7 separate regions of the Homo sapiens genome follow, and all the other regions are linked to region 6. The links are contacts of gene promoters, found by promoter capture Hi-C in blood cells and fetal thymus (Javierre and others, 2016). All regions are on one chromosome and are shown on one strand. The core of a region is centred on a gene start or on the middle of the fragment in contact, and the rest is flanking DNA. Distances in the headings are between cores, read along the strand shown.

Region 1 (3,788 bases), core at 294-2,793, 670 kb after region 6:
CCCGGCTAAGACTTTATCTTTAAACAAAGGCAATGTGTCCTAACTCTGTACTTTGTTTCCCTTGCTCACATTTTCTAGCCATGGCAGAAACTGAAGGGAAGAGAGATTAATATTTTCCATAGTATCAAAGTATTTATGTGCAAGGCACTTTTATGCTAGTGAGTATGCATTTGAAGTGAGTAGTGTAGCCCCCTTCTTATTCTTGGGAAGTGTGAGGTTCAGGTATGGTCTCAGCAAAGCCAGGATTCAAACCCCACAGTCTGTCTGAGCCTAAAATGCCTTCACTATGGCCTGTACTCGCCACTTTTGAATTTAAAGTACAGATATGCCCTGTCTTTTGCTTTACCTCATAAAAAATACAAATTTTAACTTTAAAACAAGACTCCATCTCAAAAAATTCATTTGTATTAGTCAATAAATGTTTATTAAACATCCAATATGTGTAGGGCCCTGTTTTAGGAACTGGGAATACTACAGTGAAAAGAAAGTCTCTGACCTCAAAAAGCTTATATGTTAGCAGGGACAAAAAGGCAAAAAATACATTAAAAATGAATACGACAATTTCAGACCTATGAGAAAGAATAAGACAATGTGGTACACAGTTACAGAGAGGGTGCTGATTTCACTGGATGGTGGGAAAAAGCCTCTTTAAGTCAGTGACCTTTGTGTTCAGACTCAGAAGGGGAGAGCAAAGAGCCATGTGAAGGTCTGGGAAAAGAACATTCAAAAAGAAGAAGTCAGAGGAACAAAGTTTATGAGACAAGATCCAGATTGGTGAACCCTGAGGTAAGGAAGGAAGCCAGTGTGGCTGAAGCACAGCAAGCAGGAGGGACAGCACTGAGATGGGGTCAGGGGAGTGGGGCCATCCAGGCCATAGGAAAATGCTTAGATTTTTGGTCTCTGAGTAAGTGAAAACCATTGAAGAGTTTTTGGCAAAGAAATCATCTAATATAGCTCATTCTTTAAAAACATCATTAAGGCTACTGGATATGGAAGATGAACTGTTGGGGGCTAAGAAAGGAGACACGGCAACCAGTTAGGACTGAAAGGGTCCAGGCCACAGATGACGGTGGCCTAGCCTAGGGCTGTAGCAGTAGAGCTGGTATCAAGGGTCATGGCAAAATGCAAGTTACCAAAGGAAACCAAACAGATACACCCACGATACATGGCAAGCTTAAAAAATGTTAATATTAAATGAACAACATCCCCAAGAGGACTATGATCCACATTTTAAAGAAGAAGAGTTATTACATTGACTTCCTTTACTTTTCCTGCTTTAAAACAAATGAAAAAGTTCTGAATGGGATCAAATATTCTAAGTTGTCTTAACTGATAGAATGCCTCAGGATTTATAATTGGTACTGTAAGGTTGAAAATTCAATCCACGAACCAACTTTGCTTCTAAAGACGACTGATCTGTAATAATAGTCTCAAGCCTCTTCTCTTTGTCTCAGGAAACCTGTGAGCCACTGACTCCAGAAAGGCTGAAGTAGGATCCAAAGGGGTGGCTCCAACTAGAGGTCGGAGGGCGAGGTTAACCAGGAAGTGCCTCTTGCAGCTGTGATTCCTACCTCCAGACATTTCTGGATTGCCTGCTTTTAGCACTTTGACAGTTCAGGTGCATTTATTTATTCTTCAGAACCTGAGTATCAGTTTTCCATAAATCAATGTGCAAATATGTCTTGAGCCTGTACTGTATGTCAGGCACTATGCTAGACAATAGGGATACAGCAACAAACAATACAGACATAGCTCCTCCATAAATAGTGCATTTCAATCAAGTGGGGAAGATGGACATCAAACATAAAATTATAAGACCTCTTAACAAAAAGGAGGCAGCAAGGGCTACAGGTGTCTGTAGCAAAGGGATTAATTGTAGTCTAGGGGGTTCACCAATGTCAGAAAAAGCTTCCCTCAGGAAGTGACATATAAACTGAGTTCTAAAGATTATGGGTAATATGTATCCTAGGGGAATTTTTTTGTTTGTTTGTTTTTGTTTTTGTTTTTTGAGACGGAGTACTCTGTTGCGCAGGCTGTAGTGCAGTGGTGCGATCTCGGCTCACTGAAACCTCCACCTCCTGGGTTCACGCAATTCTCCTGCCTCAGCCTCCCAAGTAGCTGGGATTACACGCGCCCCACCACCATGGCCGGCTAATTTTTGTGTTTTTAGTAGAGGTGAGGTTTCACCACGTTGGCCGGGCTGGTCACAAACAGGAATTTTTTTTTTTTTTTTTTGAGACAGGGTCTTGCTCTGTCACCCAGGCTGGAGTGTAGTGGCATGATGAGAGCTCACTGCAGTCCCTGAACTCCTGGGCTCAAATGATCTTCTTGACTCAGCCTCCCCGGTACCTGTAATTACAGGCTCATGCCACCATGCTGGATAATATTTTTATTTTTATTTTTTACAGAGATGGGGTCTTGCTTTGCTGCCCAGGCCAGTCTCAAACTCCTGGCTTCAAGGAATCCTCCCGCCTCCACCTCCCAAAGTGATGGGGTTACAGGTGTGAGCTATCACACCCAGCGAGAATTTTTTTAAAACAAGTATAAGACCTTGTTAGAGAACTAAATGTTTACCCCTGAGGATATTATACAAGAACTTCCAGGAATCAGTGTAAATATGTGTCTATCTCTCTCTCTGTCTCTCTCTCTCTCTCTCTCTCTCTCACACACACACACACACACACACACACACACACACACACACAGAATCTTCAGCAGTTTATATACAACAAATGCCCCCAGGTTACCTCTTTTCTGGGAGAGCCTCTTGTTTCAATTGAAAGTTCTCATTTACAGCAATCTCATGAGCAAGAGTCAAGTTTGATAAGTTCCTTGCTGTAGCCATCACTTCATCAAATGTTACAACCCTTGGAGGGCTTGTTGCTGAAAGAAAAACAAAAGCCAGTTAATGTTGCAGAAGAAAAGTTGTCATCCAACGAAGCCTCCTGATGCAGATAAGGTTTAATTTATCAGAATGTATATACTTCAGAGTTTTATAGGTCAGGAGACTATATATTAAAATAGGTGAATTCCCTCAGTTAATAAAGGCTTCAAAAATTTAAGAACTCCTTCAATAGCTTCAGTTACCATATTTGATAACATTGTCTCAAATATTTATGAGACCAACTTATTAATATAGGCCCATTATAAGTTACTTTTAAAAATTAAATTACCAGGCCAGGCGCAGTGGCTCACGCCTGTAATCCCAACACTTTGGGAGGCCGAGGCAGGTAGATCATGAGGTCAGGAGATCAAGACCATCCTGGTTAACACGGTGAAACCCCGTCTCTACTAAAAATACAAAAAAATTAGCCGGGCATGGTGGCGGGCACCTGTAGTCCCAGCTACTCGGAAGGCTGAGGCAGGAGAATGGCGTGAACCCAGGAGGAGGAGCTTGCAGTGAGCCAAGATCGTGCCACTGCACTCCAGCCTGGACGACAGGGTGAGACTCGTCTCAAAAAAAAAAAAAAAAAAAATTAAATTACCTCATTTTTAGTGCCCATTGAAATCTGCACTTATTATATGTATTATATAGGAAATTGATAAAATTATTTTTATTCTGTAATTCAGAAGTCTCATTAAGTAAACTCAATATGAAATAACTGATTTTTAAAACCGTAATATTTATTTATTTATTTATTTATTTATTTATTTATTTTTTTGAGATGGAGTCTCACTCTGTTGCCAGGCTGGAGTGCAGTGGTGCAATCTCAGCTCACTGCAACCTCCACCTCCTGGGGTCAAGAGATTCTCCTGCCTCAGCCTCTCGAGTAGCTGGATTACAGGCA
Region 2 (4,246 bases), core at 1,500-3,999, 610 kb after region 6:
GATTACCTGCTACTACGCATTGTTACCCATGTTACTTACATTAGCTCTAATCTTCTACATAGTCAAACTGAAGTATTGTCTCAAAATCACTTATGAGGAAACCAAGGCTTAGAGAAGCTAACTAACTGCACATTCCAGTGCCTCATAACTAGAAAACAAAGCTTTAGGATTCAAATTCAAATTGCCTTGGCTCCAAAGTTACAGATAGTGGGAAGACATGGATTGTAAAATTAACCGTATCTGGGTTCAAAGGCTATCTACCTCTTACAGTCAAGGTACCCCTGAGCTTAAGGCCTGTTAGTTGTAAAATGGAGATGTTAATAGTACCACTTATCTTGGAGGACTGAGGTGACAAATAATATACCTAGTATTTTGCCTGGCTCCTAGTAAGTACTCCATGAATGACCATTACTGTTAGCTGCCTCTCCATCAGAAAGAAAAGTACAGAAATTCTGAGTTAATCAGTTCGTTGTAGGTTATCAAACAGGAAACTACCGCACTCTCACATCTTATCTATGCCACAAATCTTTCTATTCCCAGAACTCATTAACCTCCATATTTCAAATTACACGTGAAAATAAAAAGAAGTTACAGAAGCCTCGAAAGGGAGACTGTAGTAAAAATGAATACACTGTGAAAGAGGCTGGTCTAGAAAACTAACAATAGGGTGTTAAGTCCATGATACAGGTCATTCAATATTAAGTGTCAAATAGTCCCTGATCATACTGATGCAGGAATACACATGTAAATGGTAAAAGGCTGAAAAGGAGCATAAAAGGCTGAAAAGGAGTGTGAAAAACTGAAGAGTGGTTTTATTTTTTTTTTTTTAAATCTCCTTTCATGCTCTATAAGCTAACATAAAATTCAGCTTAAACAGTGACTTTTCAAACAATGTCTCAGACTCCCATCACTGAAATTTTAAAATCAGTACCCTATGCTTCCAGACTTTCATAATAAATTGAATGCAGATAGCTTAAATATTACAATGCCTGCTTTTAGAGGGTAATAACTGGCTCCCTCTGTATTGAAACATAGCCATTTAGGACTAATGGAATGACCAATATTGCTTAAGGACACCATCTCTGCTTTCCATACCTGGTAACTGAAGCTCCAACAGCCCCTTTTCTATCAGCCTCCACGATGATCCTGTTCTTAGACAGCTGCTCTTGGATAAGAATAACTTTTTCTACTCCTTTAACAATGAAGTAGCCACCTACCCAAAGGAAACAAGAAAAACTTCATCATTTATTCCTCAACCAGTGTTGATTTAGTAATGGCAGGAATCTTGTGAATCAGAGATTACCTTTTCTACTACTGCTTCATGGCACTGGCTAACACTTGATTCAAAGGGGTTGCTGATTTTATTTTTTATTTTATTTTATTTTATTTTTTGAGAAAGGATCTCCCTTTGTCGCCGAGGCTGGAGTGCAGTGGCACAATCATAGCTCACTGCAACCTCGGACTGCTAACCTCAAGTGATTCGCCCGCCCCAGTCTCCCGAGTAGCTAGGACTAGAGGCATGTGCCACCACACGTAGCTAATTTTTAAATTTTTTGTAACAACAGGGTCTCACTATGCTTCTCAGGCTGACTCCCTGTCTTAAGCCATCCTCCCGCCTCAGCCTCTCAGTGCACTGGGATTACAGGCAAGAGCCATTGCGCCCATCTGATATTGTTTTATGGACTGAAGATCAGCACGTGATTTTATACAAATGAGCTACAAGATAAAAAATTTCTTGAGGACAGGAAATGTATCTTATTGGTCTATGAATCACCCGCCCCTGACATATGTAAAAAGTGAATGAAAAAAATAGTTAAATAAATTAGTTGTCAGAGCTCTTAAGTACAAGTGTAACTGACAATTTTCAATATAAGCTCAAATTTACTCTAAGTTTTCTAACAAATCAGTGGTAATGGTAGATTAAGATTAGGTTTCCAAAATAATATTCCATATTCAAAAAAACTCATGCATCATCATGTATTTTTTTTGCACACAATTCAGAGTAGGATAAAGTAATACTTCATTTTATACCTGCAGAATATAAGCAAAAACAATACAACATATTTGACTTATGCAACATTCTGTTATAGTCTAGTAAAGTCACATTCTTCATTAACTTCTTTCCAAAACTTCTGGGATTCTAAAACAATGCAACTTTACAGGAATAAGATTAAAGCAACTATAAGTTCAAATAAATCAATGTGAAATACGAGTTAAAGAACTAAGAGAAACTTTTTGTTAAGTTCTAAGTTTGAAATTTTACAAAAGAAATTGCCTAGAAATAGGTACAAAAATAAAATTTTTAAAAATGTAAACAAAAAAATACTTTCATCTCCCTACTGCTTTACTGCATTTAAAACACCCTGAAGTGTGATACTTGATTTTTTTCAACCAGGCAAGGCCAGTAACTCTGGAAGATTATTCTTGAATTTTTAGGCATACCAAAAGAAACTCGTGGGCAAAGATAGAAAGAAAAGACTGACAAATCATGGCAATAAACAAGAATGTGTCATATTAAAGTCTTAAGCCTGAAATAAAAGAGGAAACAGTATGTCTTTGAGAAATATAGACTAATAGGGCTAGGCGCAGTGGTTCACGCCTGTAATCCCAGCACTTTGGGAGGCCAAGGTGGATGAGTCCAGGAGATCAGCCAGGATGACATAGCAAAACACCATCTCTACTAAAAATACAAAAATGAGCTGGGTATGGTGGCACAAGCCTGTAGTCCCATCTATTTGGGAAGCTGAGGTGGGAGGATTGCTTGAGCCTGGGAGGCAGAGGTTGCAGTGAGCTGAGATCACACCACTGCACTCCAGCTTAGATGACAGAGTGAGACACTATCTCAAAAAAGAAAGAAAGAAATACAGACTAGTAGCATAAAGCTAGAGACAAATTTCTGGGTGTTTTGTGAACAAGTTCATTATAAAGTAGAAAAGCTGGTACTGTTTTTGAGACAAAATGTTAAAACCACAGCAGCAGCAGAATAAAAGAATAAGGAAAGTGGGACAAATCCAAGACTTCACACATACCTGGATCTAAGGGACATTCGTTCAGTTTGGCAAATTCTGCTGGCGTTTTTCCTGTAAGAACACAGTTTGAACTACGTAGCATTATGGGCATTCTGTATAAAATAAAACAAAAGAAAATATCACATGTAGGCTGTCAATGATAAAAGCTGCAAAAAATACAAAACATGCAGTGCACACCACCTCACTAAGGGTCTATCTATGCACCATGTTAGAAAAGGCAGAGAAATAGCAATTACATGGAAGCCAAGCAAAATGAAGTATTTTCTCAGGCACGCTGCTCGTCTAGTACAGATGATAAAAACTCAGGCTGGGTGCAGTGGCTCATGCCTATAATCCCAGCACTTTGGGAGGCCAAGGTGGGTGGATCACATGAGGCCAGGAGTTTGAGAGCAGCCTGGCCAACATGGTGGAACTCCATCTCTACTAAAAATACAAAAAATTAACTGGGTGTGGTGGTGTGTGCCGGTAGTCCCAGCTACTCAGGAGGCTGAGACAGGAGAATCGCTTGAACTTGGAGGTGGAAGCTGCCGTGAGCCAGGATCACACCACTGCACTCCAGAGTGAGGCTCTGTCTCAAAAAACAAAACAAAAAAACAAAAAACTCAAATGTTTGGTTTAAACTTTGCATACAGGCTTTAGTGAGAGTCAGAAATGACAGCAACACTTCCTTCATGGAAGACAAAGTGATTCTCATCAGTTACTTGGCAATAGCACAATGCATCCAAGTGTAAGGAACAAGAGGCTATGAAAACTAACCAGGCAGTCTGGAAAAAGAACTGAGCAAAATGTACTAGAAATGGAAATTTTAAGCACTAACTTAAAAATGTAGAAATAGGTTGGATAATAATAGCTTTGATACTGCTGAAGATATAATTACTGGGCTGGAAAAGACATCTGAAGAAATTACTGAGAATGAATTTCAGAAAGACGTAGAGATGGAAGATATGAAAGAGAGTTTAAGAGTCAGGGAAGGATAGAGAGAGAGCGACTAATCAACACCTAATCAGACTTCTAGATGGCGAAAATACACAGAATAGGTGAGAAGTCCTATTCAAAGAGATAAGAGCCATAAATTTTTAAAGACATATGAAAGCCATAAATCCTCACGGTAACATCTGCACAAGATAAAAAGAAAGCTACACCTAAGCAGATCACAGTCAAGATACTAAACACCAAAATTAGAGATAAGGTTTAAAACCCAGCCAGAAAAAAAGAGA
Region 3 (3,792 bases), core at 1,174-3,673, 690 kb after region 6:
TTTTTTTGTTGTTTCTTTTTTTTGAGACAGAGTCTCACTCTGTCAGCCAGATTGGAGTTCAGTGGCATGATCTCGGCTCACTGCAACCTCTGCCTCCCGAGCTCAGGCGATTCTTTTGCCTTAGCCTCCTGAGTAGCTGGAATCACAGATGTGTGCCATCACGCCTGGCTAATATTTTGTATTTTTAGTAGAGATGGGGTTTCACCATGTTGGCTAGGCTGGTCTCGAACTCCTGACCTCAAGTGATCCACCCCTTGGCCTCCCAAAGTGCTGGGATTACAGGCATCAGCCACCACACCCAGCCGTACATTTTGAAGACAAAAAAATTGAGAGCTCTGAACATTCAAATGCCTGAATAGTAGCTTTTACCTGAGTTCCTGGGCATTCTAGAGGAAGGTCATATACTAGGGCACTAAGGGTTTATGTTGACTAAAGGGATACTCAGCAGTGACTCACTCAGTTGGCAGGTCAAGAATAGAAACCAGAAGAACTCACTTCATGGCTTCTCTCCGCAAATACACACATATACACGTGCAGTGTCACATGCAAAGTATTACCTATTGGCATAATTATCTAATTTCCATAACAACATATCAACAAGCATACCAGCTCTGTACCAACTAAGTGCCCAAAGTATTTATAATCACATTCCATTACTCTAGAAGGGTGCCTGGACCAGATACTGGGGTGGCTGTGCCTTCTAGAAAGCAAGAATGGAATGCAGCTTTATACAAAAATATGAAGCTGTTTACATAGATATATATTCACCCGCACACATGCACACACGAAACATTTCTGGCCAATTCCCTCAGAGGGATCCCAAGCCATGCCATTGTTTATGTTACATGTACATCTGCATGTATATTATCAGTAAATTCCCACAAAGCTCAGTATAGGCTGGGCGCAGTGGCTCATTCCTGTAATCCCAGCATTTTGGGAGGCCGAGGTGGGCGGATCAACTGAGGTCAGGAGTTCAAGACCAGCCTGGTCAGCATGGTGAAACCCCGTCTCTATTAAAAATACAAAAAATTAGCTGGGCGTGGTGGCGCACTCCTGTAGTCCCAGCTATTTGGGAGGCTGAGGCAGGAGAATCACTTGAACCCAGGAGGCAGAGGCTGCAGTGAGCCAAGATCACGCCACTACACTTTTGCCTGGGTGGCAGAGTGAAACTCAGTCTAAAAAAAAAAAAATGCTCGGTGTAACATAATTATACAAATAAATTTAATTTTAATGCTGAAGCTGAATTCTTTATTTAAAGGAAGACCTCTGTGATGATATGTGGACGTTTAAAAAAATGACTTTTTAAAAGTTACAAGCATTACGTAGATCAAAATTTTCAAAGAATTAATCAACTGAGGTACAAAATAATTGTATATAATGAGGAAATGTGGTATGGTGGAAAGAGGGTGGGCTTTGGGTTCAGACAGACCAGAGGGTTGACAGCCAAGTTCCACCACTCATTATACATATGTCCTTATCCTCACAGGTATAAAATGGGGATAATAATGTTGTGGGGGCCATTTGTCATTTTGGTGATCCAGCTTTCCGAATGGTATTTGAATTGTTATCATTTATTATAGAAGCCAGAGAGGGGATGATATGCTAATCCCATTAATACTTTACTACTGGAGCTGGAAAGGCATTCTGTCTTCCCAGACCCTGGTGGCTGTAGCATGGGCATGGGACCTACGCATGTTCTGTCAGATGCTGACCACCACAGGTAGATAGGGGTGATTCACAGAGCTACAGTGGTGGTGCCCAATGCTGATGACACCAGCTATGGCATCCTTAGCATGTTCTTAGCTATGCCTGGCTTCCTTTAGTTCTTTCCCAAGCTTGGTTCTTCAGTCTAAAATATGTTAGAGTCACTCGATAGCTAATTCCATGAGCTACCAAGACCCTCTGGTCTCAGTTCCATGAGCTACGAAGACCCTTCTGGTCTAGTCAGACTAAGGTGTATTATTTGCCACTAAGAACTTTGACTAGAACAAATACTCCATAACCTGTGGGAGAATTAAAAGAAATAATGTATATGAAGAGTTGAGCAGAGTGCCAGCGACATTGTATGGATCAGTAAACTGTAACTACTATTATTATACTCTTGTTATTTTAATGATTTAATATTTACAGTTTCGACAGGTCCTGGGCAACTTAAAGGTCTGTGACATGCGATAATTTAAAATTCTGCCAAGGAGCAAATTTGAATCTAATAAGTTGGTGGTACAGGAGCCATTTATTTACCTCACAAATGAGCCTAACACATCACCCAGTATTTATATATCAATGTGAGGATTACTATTCTCCACTCATTAGGCCAGTAAGTCAGATCCATTCAGGAAAATAATATAACTTTATATTGTGTTAAGAACAATGATCCAAAAACTTGGATAATTATCCAAACGTTATCCAAAGACTTGGAAATAGGCAAAAGGGATTACTGGATGTCCTTTTAGTAGGGTGCTGTGTAGTGCAGTGTAGTAGCAGACTCGTACAAGGATTCATGCATTATCTAGGACTGTGTACCTTTGTTGGACTTACTACTCGTTATTGGTTCAGATATTCCAGAACTTTGTAAAGGCAGATGTTACTTTATCAAAAACTGATAACAAGGGCCCAGTGTAGTGGCTCACGCCTGTCATCCCAACACTTTGGGAGGCCAAGATGGACAGGTTGCTTGAGGCTAGGAGTTGGCGACCAGCCTGGGCGACATAGAGAGATCCTGTATCTACAAAAAAAATACAAAACTTAGCTGGGCAGGGTGGCATGTGGCTGTAGTCCCAGCTAATCAGGAAGCTAAAGTGGGAGAGTCCCTTGAGCCCAGGAGTTCGAGGCTACAGTGAGCTATCATCATGGCACCTCAGTTTAGCCTGGGTGACAGAGACCCTATGTCAAAAAACCGAAAACCAAAACCCAAAACAAAACACCAAAAAATTGATAACAATGCAAATTATTCTTGTCCATTTCTAATACAAGTAAAATCTTTTCTGTTCTATAGAAAAGATAAAAGCTTACTATTTATTACCTTATAAGACATTAACCAATTTTGTGTCTAACCTAGTAATCTTATTGTAAGATTTTTAAAAATGCATTTCTTGATGGGATATATAAACCCCTATTTCTCAAATATTCCTTAAACCAACTTTACCATTTTACTGGCTAACTCTTTAATTGATGAAATAAATATTTTTTTAAGCCCGTGTTTGTTCTGTTTCATATAAGTCATGTTTTCAATTTGTTGAAAATTATACCTTGACAAATAGAAGTCAATCCAAGGGGCCACATAGAAGGAGCATGTAATCCAGAACTGACGACCCCCAGGTAGGCTTCCTAGAGAAAGGAGTAGCCAAGCAGATACATGTACAAGAAGTTCTCAAGTGATCTCAACAAAACAGATTCAGGCCCCTAAATCAGTATTTAGGTCAAATTCATTGTTGAAAAATAAGGCTGATATGAGCTTAACTGATAAGGAAGAAAATTGGAACTACTTAGCTAAAAATCTGGATTGGTTTAAACTGCTTCAGTGTTGCTTTTATAATTTTCAAAAACGGCAGCTCACTTTGGAACCACAGGTACCTGCGAACTGTGGGAAATTCACCATTCTTGCCAAATGAGGTGAGGAACTCAATTCACTTTCTAAATCTACATAGATGGTTCTGCGCCATTTCTTCAGGAGTCCAAAGCTGAACCATAAGCTTGATGTAGAGGGCATTGCAATGAGTGGCTTTCAGCCCACAGGTGGACTTTGAATTTGAATGCCACAAGCCCACCCCTCTTATATGTAGCCTACTTCAT
Region 4 (3,702 bases), core at 1,013-3,512, 770 kb before region 6:
TCTCTGTGGGATACTCATTACCTTTGGTTTATGGCTGCTGAGGTCATCACGTTTTAGTGACTCACAACAAAGCAGAAATCTGCTGAGCCTCTCGCATTAAACTCTGGTTTGAACTGGTTTGAGAAGGCCTAGGAGTCAACCTAGAAACACCATGCTGATTTTTATCTTGAAATTAAATAAATATTCAGGAATTTTCAGAATGAGAGTTGAAGGTGCAGACTTGTAGTTGTACTTTTAAAAAAATATTGTAACCAATTTGTTAAGTAGGCTGTTACAGCTGTAGTGATTGTAGTGTTTTAATTATGGTTGTAGCTATAAAGAGTTAGGGAAAAGTCTGTTTTAAACCAACTCAAGCCCAGCAACTTTCAAAATTAAGGTAGATATGTTTTCTTTAGGCTACAGGGATTTTTTGCTTTTTTTGTTTTTAAGACACAGTCTCACTCTGTCACCCCAGCTGGCGTGTAGAGGTACAGGCAGAGCTCACTGTAGCCCCGACCTCCCCACTTCAGCCTCCCCTGTAGTTGGAACCACAAGCACGAACCACCATGCCTGGCTAAGTTAAAAAAAATGTTTAGTAGAGACAGGGGTCTCACTGTGTTGCCTAGGGACGTCTCCAAGTCCTGGGCTCAAGCGATCCTTCTGCCTTGGCCTCCCAAAGTGTGGGATTACAGGTGTAAATCACCACACCTGGGCTGCTTTATTTTATAGCATAATAAAAACTGTTATTAGCATGCTGTTCTTCATAAGGTGTACCTCATTTGCCAGGTGCTTCTAGCTGTCTTTCTGGTAAGGGTGATGAGTTTGCATAGCTCCATCCGATAAAATAAGAAAATTCAGAATGTCTGTTCTATACAAGGTACTAGGTTGGCCTTTTACATTTTATTGATGTCTTAGAGCTTAGTTTTATGGGATCCATGGCCAGGGATAAGGGTGAAACCTAATAATGCAAGAAACAGGTCTATGTGGAACTTTAAATATACGCCACAATATAAGTAGATAGGCCCTAATGTATTGCAACTGTGTAAAAGGCAATATAGTTCTTTTATTGTAATTGTCTTTTTCTTACTATAGTTAAGAGCTTTGGTTTCTTAAATTAGTTCTGAATTTAAATCCCAGCTCTCCTTACTGGTTATGTGATTCTGGGTTAAGTTTCCTAGCATCATTGAATCTTAAGTTTCCTCATCTTTAAAGTGGGATTAAGAATAATACCTACCTCCAGCCTGGGCAACATAGGGAGACCCCATCTCTGCAAAATAAAAACAAATTAGCCAGGCATGGTGGCACTTGCCTGTGGTCCCAGCTGCTTGGGGGCTGAGGTGGGAAGATCTCATGAGCCTAGGAGGTAGAGGCAGCAGTCAGCTGTGATCACGCCACTGCACTCCAGCTTGCAGCTACTGAGCAAGACCCTGTCTCAAAAACAAAAAAAAAAAAAAAAAAAAAAAGAAGATTAAGAGAGATAGTTACATATAAATCACTTAGCCCAATACATAGCACATGGTAAGGGAGCCATAAATTTTAGCTATTATTATTTTCAGGTTGATTGATAAAATGGCATTGCCATTTTTCAGAATTAAAAACCTATTTAGATTTGATTTCACTGCTAAGGAATATGTAACCTCATTTGATTCCTCTTCTCTGCTTCACCCCCTCCCATACGCAGAGAATAAAGCCCAGTGTAAGGACTGGAGGTCATTAGAGAGCCCCTTTTGGGTAACCTGTTGGCTAGCCTAGTGGTTCTGTAATGTTTATAGTATGGCAGTCTCTAAATTATGATATAAGAACTAATACTTTTTGATAACAACCTTCAGTGCTGTTTTATTCAAATCAGTATTACTCTTATTCGAAAGACATTTGTAATGGCAGTGCAAGATGGTTTGCATAGAAAAGGTGATTCCTAGGTTCTTCACCTTGCCAAAAATAGTCTGTAGTTAAAAAAAAAGTTTGGTGCAGTTAAAAAAAAGTTTGGTGCAATGAAAAACTTTTTGGCAGTGTTTTGCAGTTTGATCTGTGATCTTTCACTTAATAGCTATGTGATTTGGGGCATATGACATGGCCTCTCTGAGCCATAGTTCCCTCATCTATCTTACGTTGCAGTATTGGTGTGAGGATTTGAAGTCATTTTAAGTGAAGTGGTAGCAAAGCTTACATAATGACCCTCAATATTTGGAGGACATTAATATACTGATACAGAATCTTAGTAAACTGTTGCTGAATGGGGAAAATACGATGCTTTTCACATCATCGATAATCTGGATCTTTAACTCCTATTAAAAATGATTAGTAAAATTTACTTGAGTAGGTTAAAATGCGCTGCCTAAAACACTACTGGTTTGAAATAATAAGCCATTTGGAGAAAAATAAATATTATAAAAGATGAAGCTTGAGTGATTTAAAAAAAAACTGTCATTGCCATTGTGCTCTAAGAATTGCAGACTTTGCTTTAGATGGTGTGCCTAGAGTTTCGAACAAGGCAGAATTCAAATCCTATTTCTGCTATGTGACATTGAATTGAGTTTTTAATGTCTCAATCTCAGTTTTCTTATCAGTAGAAAGAATATGGCACTAGCTATCTAAGAGAATTGTTGAGCGTAAAAGTGAACTAATAGTTGGCCAAGTCCCATTTCCCCATCCCCACTGTTTCAGTTTCTTCAGTATCTTAATACAGAGTCATTGGAGTAAATTTTTGCATAACTAGTTGTGTGTGCTCTTTTCTAGGATGAATGAAATGAACCTGAGTCCAGTGGGGATGGAGCAGCTGACTTCATCCTCTGTGAGCAATGCCTTGCCAGTCTCAGGAAGTCACCTGGGATTGGCTGCCTCACCCACTCACAGTGCCATCCCTGCCCCAGGTGAGTGGTAAGGGAGACCTACTGCATTTCAACACTTAACTCTGTTATCAATTCTAAATGGAGTCTAGAAGAGATCAGAGCCCCTTTAAGGGTAGAAGGTAGAAGGGAGAAGGTAAGCAGGCCTGAATGGTGGTTCAACATGTGATAGGTAATGGAAAATAAGGTTTTTGTAGAGGTAGAGTATTAGAATTCTAGTGGATAGTAGCAGCAATTTTTTCTGATAGTCCTCTTCTGAGTTGGTAGCTTTTTGTCCAGAGCTGTAATTAACTTGGCATTTTATTTAGGGCTGCCCATTCATCTGGTTCACACTTCAGTACCCGTTCCCTGGGTTAATAGAAGAGAATCAGTTAAAATTACTCTAATAACTATTCCCAGAGAGCATGGGGAATTGGGCTTTATATTCCACCAGGTTTGAAATTAAATGGCAATAACTGCAAGTGTACCAGGTCTAGAATTAATGTGGAAAGAAGTGTGGTACTTTTACCTGGGGCTTTTACATGGAACGCCTCATGAGCCTCCATACACAGCAAAATCGTATAGGAAAAATTCATTCTTCCTATCCTTTTTTTTTTGAAATGGAGTCTCACTCTGTCATCCAGGCTGGAGTGCAGGGGCACGATCTCGGCTCACTGCAACCTCCGCCTCCCGGGTTCAAGTGATTCTCCTGCTTCAGCCTCCTGAGTAGCTAGGATTATAGGCATGCACCCCTACACCTGGCTCATTTTCTTTTTTTTCTTTTTTGAGATGGAGTTTCGCTCTTGTCGACCAAGGTGGAGTGCAATGGCACGATCTCGGCTCACTGCAACCTCCGCCCGCCTCCCGGGTTCAAGCAATTCTCCTGCCTCAGCATCCC
Region 5 (4,286 bases), core at 664-3,163, 760 kb after region 6:
AGCTAAGTAGCCATGTGACAGGCCTTAGAAAGCTAAGGCTGAGAGAAGGCTCTAATCTAATTCTGTTGTTTTACAGATGGGGAGGCTGAGTCTCAGAGAAGTTGTTCACCCAAGCTCATACACTAACTGGCTAAGAAGACAGGGCCTAATTTCTTCTCTTATCCCCCACAATTTGTTTTGGCTCCAGGCCTAAGCACAGATGCAAAATGCTCAGAAGTAAGCGAAGAATCAGGGCAGTTGAGTTGCTGCAGGCAGCAAAACCCACTCTTGGCAGGAAGGGGTGTGGCAGCCTGGCCTTGCTGTGCAAGCCCCCGCGTGTGGCAGCGAACACTCAGGAGCAATACCTGTTGGGTAATGGGGCTGTGGGGAAATCCCGGCCTGTGTTCAAATAGCTGGTGATGTTGTGTTGAAAGAGGCATTACCAACTGGGTGTGGCTGCTGGTGTGAGGACACATCCTGTCCCACAGAGTCCTTCATGGAAACTCAGAAGGCTAGGTCTTTTTGTTTTCTTCCATTCACGGGTATGATCTTGGTTTGCACTCCAGGACGGAGTTCTCACATGGTGTGACAAGAACAGCAGGGATGGGGGAAGTCACCTGGAATCAGGACTCTGGTCCGAATGCTGGCCTGCCGGGCTGTGCTGCCTAGGATAATTCACTTTCCTTCTCTGGGCCTCCATCTGTTTTCCCATCTGAAAAGTGAGGGGAGATAAAGTAATCTTCATGTTCTCTTCCAGATCCAACTTTCCTTGACTTTAACCATTGCACAAGAGTCTTTTGGAGCCTCGGGTGGGCAGGAGGAGGCCTAAGGGAAAAAGGACTAGACAGTGAGCAGATCTCTAGGGGCCAGGGTGGCTTCTGTCTTAACCAAGGGTCTGTTTGTAGCTCCCATGGGGGCCGGCACACACTGGGTCACAATTAATGTTTTCTCATTTATTGGGGTGAAATGGGGAATGTTGGCCGGGCCGGGCTGACATCTTGGATAACCTCATGTGAAGACTATTCACTTTCAGAAGATGCCGGGATGCACCAGTAAAAAATCCAGAGCGGCTCAAGCCCCTGAACTTTCAGCTGGGGAATAGCCCCAAATCAGCTGACTGTGGCAGTAGGAACCCAGAGAACATAATTGAAGTGAGAATTTATTGCCATCTAGTGTCAGAGTCAGGGATCACAGGAATGATTTCTTCATTTTTCGCTCTTGTTCCAGAAAGGGGATAAAATCCAATTGTACCATTAAAAATACCAGAGAAATCCACTATTTAAAAGACCTATGTGTGTATTTCTCTGTGACATGAATGCTTTTGTAATGTGTATACTATCCTACTAATTAGCCCCTTTTGAAAACTTAGGTAATAAAGGGTTTTGTTTAATATGAATCTTTTGTTAGTAGAAGTTTAGATACCGAAAGACCTTTATCGTTCCTATGTCAAGCTAGTTAAGAAGTGCGCAGTGGCTCACGCCTGTAATCCTAGCACTTTGGGAGGTCAAGGTGGGCGGATCACGAGGTCCGGAGATCGAGACCATCCTGGCTAACACGGTGAAACCCCATCTCTACTAAAAACACAAAAAATTAGCTGGGCGTGGTGGCACGTGCCTGTCATCCCAGCTACTCGGGAGGCTGAGGCAGGAGAATCGCTTGAACCTGGGAGGCGGAGGTTGCTGTGAGCTGAGATCACAGCACTGCACTCCGGCCTGGGCAACAGAGTGAGACTCTGTTTCAAAAAGGACAAAAAAAAAAAAAAGTGCAAGTGGCGCCCTTTAAATAAGGCAAGTCAAATGTTGGATGCTTAGTCCTTCACTTAAGTAATAGTCACCCATAATTGTGTTTTGTGTTTGATGTCATGCTTTAGGTGGAACACATTTATCATCTCGCTTACCCTGACGATTATCCCAGGGAGTAAAAGTGGTTGTCTCTGATTTACTGATCAGACACTAAGAAATGGTCATTAATTTGCTCTGGGAGCACGCAGTCTGTGGTAGCAGCAGGACTCGGACTCTGTTTGTCTCTAATAAGGCCTGCTTTTTGTCTGTTAAACCATACTCCCTTTCCCATAGTAATAAAATCAGCTTCCCATAATGTCCCAGGATACAACTATGTACTTGTACTGTGTGTATAGTACTGGTGGTTAAGACACTGGGTTCTGGCCAGGTGCAGTGGCTTGTGCCTGTAATCCCAGCACTTTGGGAGGACAAGGCAGGCAGATTGCTTGAGCCCAGGAGTTCGAGACCAGCCTGGGCAACATGGCGGAAAACCCCATGTCTACAAAAAATATAAAAATTAGCCGGGTGTGGTGATGCATGTCTGTAGACCCAGCTATTCAGGAGGCTGAGGTGGGAGGATTGCTTGAGCCTGGGAAGTCAAGGCTGCAGTGACCCATGACGGCAGCACTGCCCTCTAGCCCAAGTGAGACCCTGTCTCAAAAAAAAAAAAAAAAAAAAAGATAAGAAATTGGATAAGTTGAGTTTTTGAGCCTTACTATTTGAGTTCCCAGCCATGGCATATTCTATCTGTCTGACATCGGGACAGTTACTTAAGTGCTCCGTGCCTCAGTCTCCCCACCTATAAATGCAAATGATGCTAATGATAGTGCCTACTTCATAGGGTTGTTGTGAGGCTTACTCCATCTGAGGTGCTTAGAACAGTGGCCATGACAGTGAAGTGCTCAATAAATAGTACTTAGAAATTGACTAAATGCAGGGAATTTGAAATGCCAGGCTTGTGAAATGAGCCCTTCTATTGTTGGCCTGCAAAATGTGAGTTTAGAATTTTTTTTTTGACAGGGTCTTACTCCATTGCCCAGGCTGGAGTGCAGTGGCATGATCATAGCTCACTTGCAGCCTTGACCCTCCGGGCTCAAGCGATCCTCCCGCTTAATCCTCTCTTGTAGCTGGAACCACAGGTGCACACCGCTACACCTGGCTCGTGTTTTGATCTTTTCATAGAGACAGGGGTCTCACTATGTTGCCTAGGCTGGTATCAAACTCCTCAGATCAAGTAATCCTTGCACCTCGGCCTGCTGAAGTGTTGGGATTACAGGCATGAGCCACTGTGCCCCGTTGAGTTTGGAATTTTGATTATGAGTGCCTTCAGGTGGGCCTGTGTTTGATTGTGAGTGCCTTCAAGTGGGCCTGTGTTTGATTGTGAGTGCCTTCAGGTGGGCCTGTGTTTGATTGTGAGTGCCTTCAGGTGGGCCTGTGTTTGATTGTGAGTGCCTTCAGGTGGGCCTGTGTTTGATTGTGAGTGCCTTCAGGTGGGCCTGTGTTTGATTGTGAGGTCTTCAGGTGGGCCTGTGGCCTCTAGATTCTCACATTTCCCACCACTCACTTGTGTCTGCTTCTCCATTCATTTAGGCCTCCTGTCTGGCTCCTGGAAGCATTTGGTGTTTTGATCCTTGCAGTGAGTGAGATGAATTACATGGACATTGTCAACCTGATGGAAACTTTGGGCTCTTTGTCGACCTCTTTTAAGGGCTGTGACTTCATGGCTTTGTACATCAAAGAAGATCTTTGGGTTTTCTTGTGCAATTTGGCTTCTCCTGCCGAGAACAGAGGCTCTTCTAGCCAAGAACTAAAGCCCACCATGGCAGTCCCTCCCCAGATTCTTCTGCAGATGGCTACTTTCCTCCTAGCCTTCACGGGAAGGAACCGGGGCTTGCTGAGGTAAGGAGGGGCACAGGAGAGAGGGAGTAAAATCTGCAGAGAGGCAGCCCACACACTCAACCCCTAGAGCCCCTCTGCAGAGAAAGTCTATGCTGAGGAGATGTCAGAGCCACAGGACAGTCCTGAAAATCAGGTGCCACTCAGAGGCAATTGCCATCCACTACCAGAAGAGGGCACTGTAGTGCAGCGGCCCGGGAGGGAGCAGCTGCAGCCGATGAAGGTTCTAGGCCAGACTGCATGGAAGTAGCTGGGACCTGCCGTTAAGAAGCTTGGCCCAATTTTTCCTGATGGCCCCTTCTAGCTCTGACATTCTGCAATCCCATCAGGAGAGAACTGGAATGAATCAGCCAAGAATTCCAAGTGGGTTATAGAAGGAAGAAACCAGAAGCAAGGGCTGGGGGAGGAGGTGGGTGTGGCTGGAAAGTTTCTTTTGTTGGGGGCTAAAATCTGTCTAAGTGAATCCAGCAGGAGGAAAAAAAAGCCTTAAAACAGCTCCCCTGGGGTCACATGCTCAGGTTGGGCAGCCTGTCAAACCACCCCAAGTCGACTGGAATCCAACATGACATTATAGCTCACTCCTGCCCTTGTTGGAGGAGTGCTTAATCCCAAAGAAACAATTAAAGTTAC
Region 6 (4,101 bases), core at 114-2,613:
GTGCAAATGACACACTTTGGTTAGTCTGGACCCCAAATCATTTTATTTCAGGAAAAAGTGTGCAATAAATCTATGCATAATAGAGTTTTTATATTCGGATAACTCAGGAGTTGCTGGACAAACACCCCCCAGCTGTACACATGAGTTGCTCAGATCATTCTAGAATATCCTAGAGATCAGAGGTGGGTGATCTTGAGGAGCCAGGATTCTTGCTGCTACTCAGTGGAGTTAAATGCACGTGTGAGCTCCTCTCAATATAGCCTGTTGAGCCTAAACTGCATAGTGAGACTAGACTCAAAGATTTAGTTAACATTTCCTGAGTTCCTACTGTGTGCCCAGCATTGTTGACAGAAAAAATAATCAGTAGCCTCAAGGAATTCACTCCACAGGGTGCGAGGGCAGTCTGTATGCCAGTGCCACCGACGGCAGAACTGTGCACAGTGTGCTACGAACACCTGACAGCAGACACCTCCAGCTGGGAAAACCAGTTTTCCTGACTCCAACTCCACACAAACAGAATCACCAGGCCCAGCTCAGGGCACCCTGTCCTCGATAACACTTAACTAGGTGTGATTAGTCACGTTATTAGTTGTTGATATCTCTGCCCTCCACTAGAATGTAAGCTCCATAAGGACAGGGAATGTGTTTTATTCCCCCTCTATTTTCTCATTGCTGTTTCAATATGCTTGGCACTTAGCAGGCCTGCCATAAATACTTGTTTTTTGGATGGATAAATGTGAAAATAAATGAGAGAGACATTCAGCCTGGCTTTAAGGAGAAATTAACGTGTTTAGTGTATGAGGTTGGGCATCACCGGTAATAATTAGAATGGAAACCACTTGGCAGTTTATCAGAAAAGGGGAGTATTTAGGTGAAGGTGGCAAGGAGGGAGAGAAAGGAGAATGGCTTTTAAAGACAGTCGCTAACTGCTGGGGTAGGGTGGGGGCGGGGAAGAGTTCAGATGTGTTTCAAAGAACTTTGGGGGTTTTTTAAACATTTCTTTTGTAAGTTGGTTCTTTACCTAACTGAATTATTTTGGGAACAGTGATTGGCTCTATCTTAAAGATATAGCGGTTTCTGTTACTTCTTTTTTTTCTTATATTTTCTAAGCGTCAAAGCTACTGGAACTCCGCTTCCTAAAATGCTGGGAAGGAAAGGGTGTGAAAATGCCAGATGCCCCCGCCAGCACAGGCTGGGCTGCCTGGAAAGCCGATTCCCACTCCGACTCGCCCTCGTGGTGCGGGGAGGGACGCGTAGTTGTGTCCCGCGCTCTGACTGGCTGCGTTGGGACGCGGGGGCGTGTCTTGGGGGGGCGGGGGTTGGCGGTCATCTCCCGAGCCCTGATTGGCCATGGGCGAAGGGACTGATGGCCTGGTTGGCGCTGCTGAGAACTGTCGGGAGCTTCTTGAGACCGAGGACCGAAATCCCGGCTCCAGGCCTCGGGGACTGCGGACTGTGGGGAGGCTGGCCGGAGAGAGAGGGAAGGACGGGGCCTGGCCCCCGGGACTCCCTGTGCCTTGCTTGGAGCTGACGCCGACGGGTGAGTCGCCCCCTTCCTCTGCTCCTGGGCGTGTTCCTCACCAGCGGCGCCGCAGCGGTCAGGGCCCGCAAAACCCCACGCCTCGCCAGACGCTCAGCTCAGCCTGCCGGGTTTCTCTGGAAAAGCGGAGGCCCCACAGTGAATGTGCGGCCTTTTGATCGGTCCTGGAGATCTTCCGTGGACCCTCGTTTTTCCTTGCTTATAAACGTTGGTCAATTTGAAACTGGCAGCAGGGCATATGTGTTACGAAAGAAGAACTTTATTGAAACCAGTGGTGGTGTAGAGAAGACCATACTAACCATAACTGTGTATTACAGAAGTGAATTTCACTCCCCAAAAATGCTTAAGAAACAAGCATCCTAGAACAGCCCACATTGTGATTTAACAAACATTTACCAAAAGCATTGCTATATGTGGGGGCACAGGGCTAAGAGCAGGCAGGACTCTGGAGCCAACCTGTGGGGTTTGAGTCCAAATTCTGCCGGTTTTTTGTTTTTTGTTTTTTTTTTTAGCTGAGTAACCTTGGGCAAGTTCCTTTACCTGCGTCTGTTTCCTCATTTTAAAATGAGTTGTTGTGATGATTTAATGATTTAGTATATGTGAAGAGTTTTCTGCATATTCTAAGTGATTTATGGTATTAACTCGTTTGATCTTTGCAGTCACCCAGGAGATAGTATCACCATTTTCCTGATGCCAAACTGAGGCTCAGAGAGGTGAAGTAACTTCTTCAAGTCACAACACAACTGTTGTCCAGGAATCAGGCAGTCTGGCTCTGCTAACCCAGTTTTACCCACTGCATTAATGTACCGCATCCACTTGTTCACTCAGTTTCACCTGACAAATACTAATTTTGTCTCTCTGTGGAACAAGTTCTTTGCTGGGTGCAGGGAATAAAGCAGAACACCGTTCAGTTCCTGCCTTCCCAACGCTTGTAAATCTAGTGCAGGTCATTCATGGCCGGGCTGCAGGGTGTCCATGAATCCTGCTAAAATCATTTGCGAAATGTTGTGAGCGTGGGTCTTTTCTTCTGGAAAGAGAGTCTGTGACTCTCAGGTTCTGAGTTGATCTGTGATCCAAACAGAGGTGTGAAGAAGTGTTGTTTTAGCAGATCTGTGCCTAGTATGCCTGATACACAGCTTGAACTTCAAACAAACAGCAACAAAATTCCTACTGGTTGGAAGAATGAAGAACTTGTAAGAGCATAATAAGTGCTGCAGTAGCGTCCGGAGCAGGGTGCTGTGGAAGAGCACACAGAAGGCCACCTGCCCAGGAATGCCTCCTAGAGGCAGTGAAGGCAGCTGGGTGAAGGATAGGGAAGCAGTTCATTGGAACACTGTGGTGACCAGTCTGTCCATGTAGTGTTGAGACAGAAACAACACGTGAACAGCTGCAGCTGTTGTACCACTTGTGCGCAAGTGTAAAAGTCCATGGTGCCATGAAATCATGTAATGGGGACAGGAGGCTTCATGTATTCGTGAAGGTTAGAAAAGTTTCCTTGAGAAAGTGACACTTAGGCCTAAAAGTTGGAGCATTTTGGGCATGGAATCTGGCCCACAGTCTTCAAAGACCACATGGTAGAAACCAGTAGAGCACCAGGGACTGACAGGAAGCAAATGCAGCTGGTGCAGGAGAGGGAAATGGGAATTAGGGTGGTGGCAGAGCCCAAAGAGGCCTTGTAGGCCATGGTAAGGCATTTCTATGTTTTATTTTACTTTGTCTTTATCCTAAAATGCCATTGGCAAGTTTATTGCAGGGAACTGACAAGATCACATTTTGAGAAGAAGTTGGAAAGAATCCCAAGTGGATGAACTGAATATCTGGATGAGGACAAGATCTGTGGGGAGAGACTGTAAGGTAAGAAGAAGAGAGGTCTAGAACCAAGCCTTGAAGGTGAGCTTGTATGGGAGACAGATAGAGGGTGGCGAGAAGTATAGAAAGGGAGAAGAATCAAAAAAAGTCGAGTGTCCAGGAAGTCAAATGAGAGAATATTTCAAGGAGAAAGTGGTCAACTCTGCTAAAAGCTGCAGAAGTCAAAAGAGATAAGGAAGGCTGGGTGTGGTGGCTCATGGCTTGTATTAGTCCTTTTTCATGCTGCTGATAAAGACATAGCCAAGACTGGGCAATTTACAAAAGCAAGAGGTTTAATGGACTTACAGTGCCACGTGGTTGGGGAGACCTCACAATCATGGCGGAAGGTGAAAGGCACATCTCACATCGTGGCAGACAAGAAAAGAGTGAGAGCCAAGCGAAAGGGGTTTCCCCTTATAAAACCATCAGATCTCATGAGACTTATTCACTGTCATGAGAACAGTATGGGGGAAACCACCCCTATGATTTAATTATCTCCCACTGGGTTCCTCCCACAACACAAGGGAATTATGGGAGCTACAATTCAAGATGAGATTTGGGTGGGGACACAGCCAAACCACATCACGCCTGTAATCGACACTTTGGGATGCCAAGGTGGGCAGATCGCTTGAGCTCAGGAGTTCAAGAGCAGCCTGGAAATGTGGTGAAACCCCTTCTCTACAAAAAAAAGAGATAAGAATGAAAACTACTCA
Region 7 (4,208 bases), core at 324-2,823, 650 kb after region 6:
CTATCCCTTTTTTTAATACTATGAATGCTATTGCCCCATCCGTAATGAGGATAATTGAGAATTGATTGTATTGATTTCCTAACACAGGAAAAAAATTTAAACAATGAAACAACCAGATAAACAACCAGATACAATTATAAAGAGGATGATTTAATGACTAGTTATTAATAGCTAGCATTCATTGAGTACATATTACGTGCCACACATCTGTACCTGAATCATCTTAAGTTCTCACAACTCCAAGGTAGATATTAATACAATTATTATTCCCTTCTTACAAGTGAGGAAGTCAGGCTCATAGTAATTTGAGAACATATTCAAGTGTTCATAATAAGTCAGTAGCAGAGCTGGGATTTAAACCCTGGTCCATCTGACCCGAAAGCCTGTCTTCTTAGTAACCACTTTCTGTATACTTTATAATAACATTTCAGCAGCACTGGGTATTCCCTAAAGGCTTAATAAATAAAAGTTTCTGGAAAGTAATGACTACCCATGCAGGGAAATCATAAGATAAGACCAACTGCAAAATCAGAGGTTTCCTTTCATTATAGGTCTTGGTCCTGGAATATTAATGAGCATCAGAATCAGGAGAAAGGTCAGATCAGGGCTCAGTCCTTGGTCTGCCCTTTTCTGTTTGCAGCCCAAGGCAAATTCTATTCTATCTGTAAGCTTCAGTTCAAAATGAGAAGTTGGATTCTGTAACTACATGGGCTCCTTTTGGCTCTTAATAGTCTAGGATTTCATCAAGTAATTTATATGCTCTCTGAATAATAGGTGGGAGGATGAGAAGACAGGTGCATTTCCCTTCAATTACAGGAATAAAGAGGACATGCCTCTGAAGACACCTGAAAGGGGAACCAGCAGAAGCTGATCCATAAGAGACCCATAGAACCATCTGGCCATTCACCAAGACTAAGAATTTCTGACTTAGATAGGAATTCCTATTGGATGATGTAAATGCAAAATCTAAATGGGATTCTAGCATTCATGAAGGTGTAATACTGGAGATAAATTTAGCAAAAACCAAAATCTTCACTGGACTGTGTCACATCTCTGAAGGGCAGAATTGTCAGCACTTCTGAAGACTTCGTAGCAAGGTGGATTTGTGAAGTCAGTAAACATTTCACTGCAGAAAAATGATGAAGTCAGAACAACTGGAGGAAAGCCCTCTTCAATAGCACAATTCTAGGGAGGCCGAGATGGGTGAGTCATGAGGTCAAGAGATCGAGACCATCCTGGCCAACATGGTGAAACCCGGTCTCTACTAAAAATACAAAAATTAGCTGGGCGTGGCGGCGCATGCCTGTAGTCCCAGCTACTTGGGAGGCTGAGGCAGAAGAATTGCTTGAACCCGGGAGGCGGAGGTTGCAGTGAGCTGAGATTGCGCCACTGCACTCCAGCCTGGTGACAGAGCGAGATTCTGTCTCAAAAAAAAAAAAAAAAAAAAAAAATTGCGCAATTCTAAACATCAAGCTTGGCAGATTTCTGTGTTTCATTTGTTTTTTTCCAAAGCACTGTCAAAGAAAAGCTGTTGTACACATTCATTGTAAGTGGAAATACTACACTCACCCTGGCACTTGTCATGGAAAACACCTCTCCCTTCCTATGAGAGGACATCTAAGCCTTCAGAGATATTAAAGGAAATTCTAGAAAAAGGTGTAAGATAAGCTTCTCTAAAGCACAGTCCTGAATCTCACATCCAGATGTCCAAGGTCATTCTTGTTCTCTGAGACACATGCAGAGCCTTAATACAAGAGGGAGCAGATGCAAAAATTTGGAACTTACTCTTTGTTCATGCCTTCAAGTAGAACAGCTGAAATCCTTGTTAACCTGCTTGCAAGCTCAGGCAGGCCTCCTGTAATAGCACCCACCATGTTGTTGGTAATTAGGGACAGGCAGGCAATAATTTTCAATTGATTCAGCTTTTCTGTTAGTTCCTGAAGACGTGCTCCATCTGTCATAAGTGTCTAACATATTTATTTAAAATATAAAAATAGAAAGGGTAGCTCAATAGCATGAAAATACAAAACAGGCAATGTCATTTCCAAATTCCCATTTTTATCTGATTTTTGTAAAGTCATTAAACCACATGAAACACAGACCAGATGATTCAAAGTTAGAACTTAAGAATAAAAATACTGGGAAATTTGGGTGAAGAACAAAACCACTCACCTCTGGTAATTCTTTTTTCTGATAATCCCACTGTAACAGTTTCAAGTAACTATTATTTAGCACCAAAGTAGGGCTCAGGCTTGGCTTGGAGGTATTTTCGGCCCCAGGAGTTAAAGCACTCTCAGAAAGAGAAAATAATTCTTCATTTACAGATTCTTTTATCCATTCTGTAGTCTGATCAAGAGCACCTAAGAGTGAAAAGGCCACATATTTGTTCTACAGCTGATTGATCCCTTCACTGGTGTATTCCACTTGACAGATGCTGTGTTGGGTGCTGGGCATGAATGAGAAGACACAGCCATGCCCTGCAAGGAGTTTACAGTCCAGATGGAAAGGCAGACCTGTAAACTAACAATTATAACAGAGTACAATGAATGCTAGTAATTGTGGGAAAGAGGCTGTCCAGGAAAGAATCTAAGAGGAAGAGCTCTGTAAGTGCTCTGGAAAAGACAGCATATGGCACATTCTAGATGTCACATTCTGGATGCCACAAACAAATCTGTATTGCTGGTCCATAAAGAACTAGGGGTAAGAGGGTTGTAGCAAATGGCATTGGATGGGTGGTTAGAAGCCAGCCTTGAGTTTGTGCAGAGAAGGTATTTAGAGAAAAGGCATTAATTTTCACACATTTTTGGTAAAAGGTGAAAGATTTATACAATCTGAAGAGAAAATAGAGTATAATTATTACACATTTTTGGGTCTTGGACCACTTTTAATAACTAATTGGAGATATGCCTTTCCCAAAGTGAATGTGCACAATCACGTGCACATGTCCACAAACAATTGTCATTCTCTCTTACCAGATTGACAGTCCCCAGGTTACAAACACCAGCGATGGGAATGGGGAGTTTTGAATAATATTATTTTCTTTCTTTTCTTTTTTTTTAAGACGGGGTCTCACTCTGTCACCCAGGCTGGAGTGCAGTGGGGCAATCTCAGCTCACTGCAACCTCCACCTCCCATGTTCAAGCGATTCTCCTGCCTCAGCCTCCTGAGTAGCTGGGACTACAGGCGTGCACCACCACACCCAGATAATTTTTGTATTTTTAGTAGAGATGGGGTTTCACCATGTTGGCCAGGATGGTCTCAATCTCCTGACCTCATGATCCACCCACCTTGGCCCCCAAAAGTGTTGGGATTACAGGCGTGAGCCACTGCGCCCGGCTGAATAATATTATTTTCAACATGGAACCTGTATGATCAGATATGTATGTCAGAAAAATTGCTTGGAAAGAAAGACTGAATTAGTGGAGGGAGAGTAAATTATTGCAGTGGTTCAAACAAGAGAGTGAATGGATAAGGGCAGTGGAAGTGAGGGGTAAAGAGGGAAAAAGTGAGAAATATTTAGGGGGAGTACCCACAGGTCTTGGTGACCACTTACATGTAGAGAATAGGAAAGGAGTATTCTAGGATGACTCCCAGATTTGCACCTTGGACATCTGAATGAATGCCTGTGCCATCTACCAAGATACAGAATATAGGCTAGAGAGGTTCTGAAATAAATCCTTCCCATAACCTTTCTAAGGCCACCACCTGGTTGTCAAATCCAACAAACATGTCCTTCCTACCTTTTTTAAACATCTCTGTAATACAGACATCTCTTAGTACAGCCCTCCAGAAACTCTTTCCCTGGCTTTTCTGACACCACTTTTTCCTGGTTTCCCCTAGCTGTGCTTCTGCATCTCATACTTGGGTTGAGAAGACAGGTGCATCTCCCTTCAATTACAGGAAGATGTTCCTCTGCCTGTTCATTAAATGTTGATACTTCCAAGCACTCTACCCAATCCCCACTGATTTGGTACTCTTCAATCTCACTAGACCATCTTACTCATTCCTGTGGTTTCTATTTCCGCCCATACCCCATAAGGCTCCTAAATCTGTATCTATAGCCCTCACTTCTCTCCTGAGCTTTTGATTTCCTCATTTGTAGAACGAGCAAGTGGGAGGAGAGTCATTAAATATGAAGTTGAGCAGAGATGCCCAGTACAGAACACTGCTACATAGTGTTTCCATCATCCAGATATAACAGGTACTTT

What was found. Contacts are between HindIII fragments. The CHiCAGO score rates a contact against its expected background, and 5 or more counts as called.
Region 1: a contact is called between a fragment that was not itself captured here and the fragment with the promoter of MTERF2 in region 6, in 3 of 17 cell types (non-activated CD4 T cells, activated CD4 T cells and fetal thymus). The highest score is 7.4, in non-activated CD4 T cells.
Region 2: a fragment that was not itself captured here is called in contact with the fragment with the promoter of MTERF2 in region 6 in 11 of 17 cell types (naive CD8 T cells, total CD4 T cells, non-activated CD4 T cells and 8 more); the score reaches 11.5 in naive CD8 T cells.
Region 3: a contact is called between a fragment that was not itself captured here and the fragment with the promoter of MTERF2 in region 6, in 7 of 17 cell types (fetal thymus, activated CD4 T cells, naive CD4 T cells and 4 more). The highest score is 8.0, in fetal thymus.
Region 4: a fragment that was not itself captured here is called in contact with the fragment with the promoter of MTERF2 in region 6 in 4 of 17 cell types (activated CD4 T cells, non-activated CD4 T cells, naive CD4 T cells and 1 more); the score reaches 6.9 in activated CD4 T cells.
Region 5: a contact is called between a fragment that was not itself captured here and the fragment with the promoter of MTERF2 in region 6, in 2 of 17 cell types (naive CD8 T cells and total CD8 T cells). The highest score is 5.9, in naive CD8 T cells.
Region 7: a contact is called between a fragment that was not itself captured here and the fragment with the promoter of MTERF2 in region 6, in 10 of 17 cell types (total CD4 T cells, total B cells, naive CD8 T cells and 7 more). The highest score is 9.6, in total CD4 T cells.

What each region holds. Positions count from the first base shown.
Region 1 is chr12:106,313,453-106,317,240 of GRCh38, reverse strand. TCP11L2 (t-complex 11 like 2) reads right to left here. Exons shown (of 10, transcript NM_152772.3): 3 at 2,748-2,883. Among named protein-coding and RNA genes, the nearest start is that of TCP11L2, 13 kb to the right of the region's middle. The HindIII fragment of the contact is 735 bases long and covers 1,176-1,910 here.
Region 2 is chr12:106,375,234-106,379,479 of GRCh38, reverse strand. It overlaps POLR3B (RNA polymerase III subunit B), which reads right to left. Exons shown (of 28, transcript NM_018082.6): 7 at 3,030-3,121; 8 at 1,096-1,213. Among named protein-coding and RNA genes, the nearest start is that of POLR3B, 20 kb to the right of the region's middle. The HindIII fragment of the contact is 5,172 bases long and covers 164-4,246 here.
Region 3 is chr12:106,293,141-106,296,932 of GRCh38, reverse strand. No RefSeq gene overlaps it. Among named protein-coding and RNA genes, the nearest start is that of TCP11L2, 7.7 kb to the left of the region's middle. The HindIII fragment of the contact is 1,172 bases long and covers 1,838-3,009 here.
Region 4 is chr12:107,755,979-107,759,680 of GRCh38, reverse strand. It overlaps PRDM4 (PR/SET domain 4), which reads left to right. Exons shown (of 12, transcript NM_012406.4): 3 at 2,716-2,849. PRDM4-AS1 (PRDM4 antisense RNA 1) reads right to left here. Exons shown (of 5, transcript NR_120474.1): 4 at 1,289-1,406. Among named protein-coding and RNA genes, the nearest start is that of PRDM4, 3.3 kb to the left of the region's middle. The HindIII fragment of the contact is 238 bases long and covers 2,144-2,381 here.
Region 5 is chr12:106,223,844-106,228,129 of GRCh38, reverse strand. No RefSeq gene overlaps it. Among named protein-coding and RNA genes, the nearest start is that of CKAP4, 22 kb to the left of the region's middle. RefSeq lists a silencer at 3,744-3,853 and an enhancer at 3,904-3,953. The HindIII fragment of the contact is 4,033 bases long and covers 1-3,929 here.
Region 6 is chr12:106,984,408-106,988,508 of GRCh38, reverse strand. MTERF2 (mitochondrial transcription termination factor 2) reads left to right here and starts at 1,363. Exons shown (of 3, transcript NM_001033050.3): 1 at 1,363-1,540; 2 at 3,284-3,394. The HindIII fragment of the contact is 15,581 bases long and covers 1-4,101 here.
Region 7 is chr12:106,333,791-106,337,998 of GRCh38, reverse strand. It overlaps TCP11L2 (t-complex 11 like 2), which reads right to left. Exons shown (of 10, transcript NM_152772.3): 7 at 2,173-2,360; 8 at 1,786-1,967. Among named protein-coding and RNA genes, the nearest start is that of POLR3B, 22 kb to the left of the region's middle. The HindIII fragment of the contact is 195 bases long and covers 1,476-1,670 here.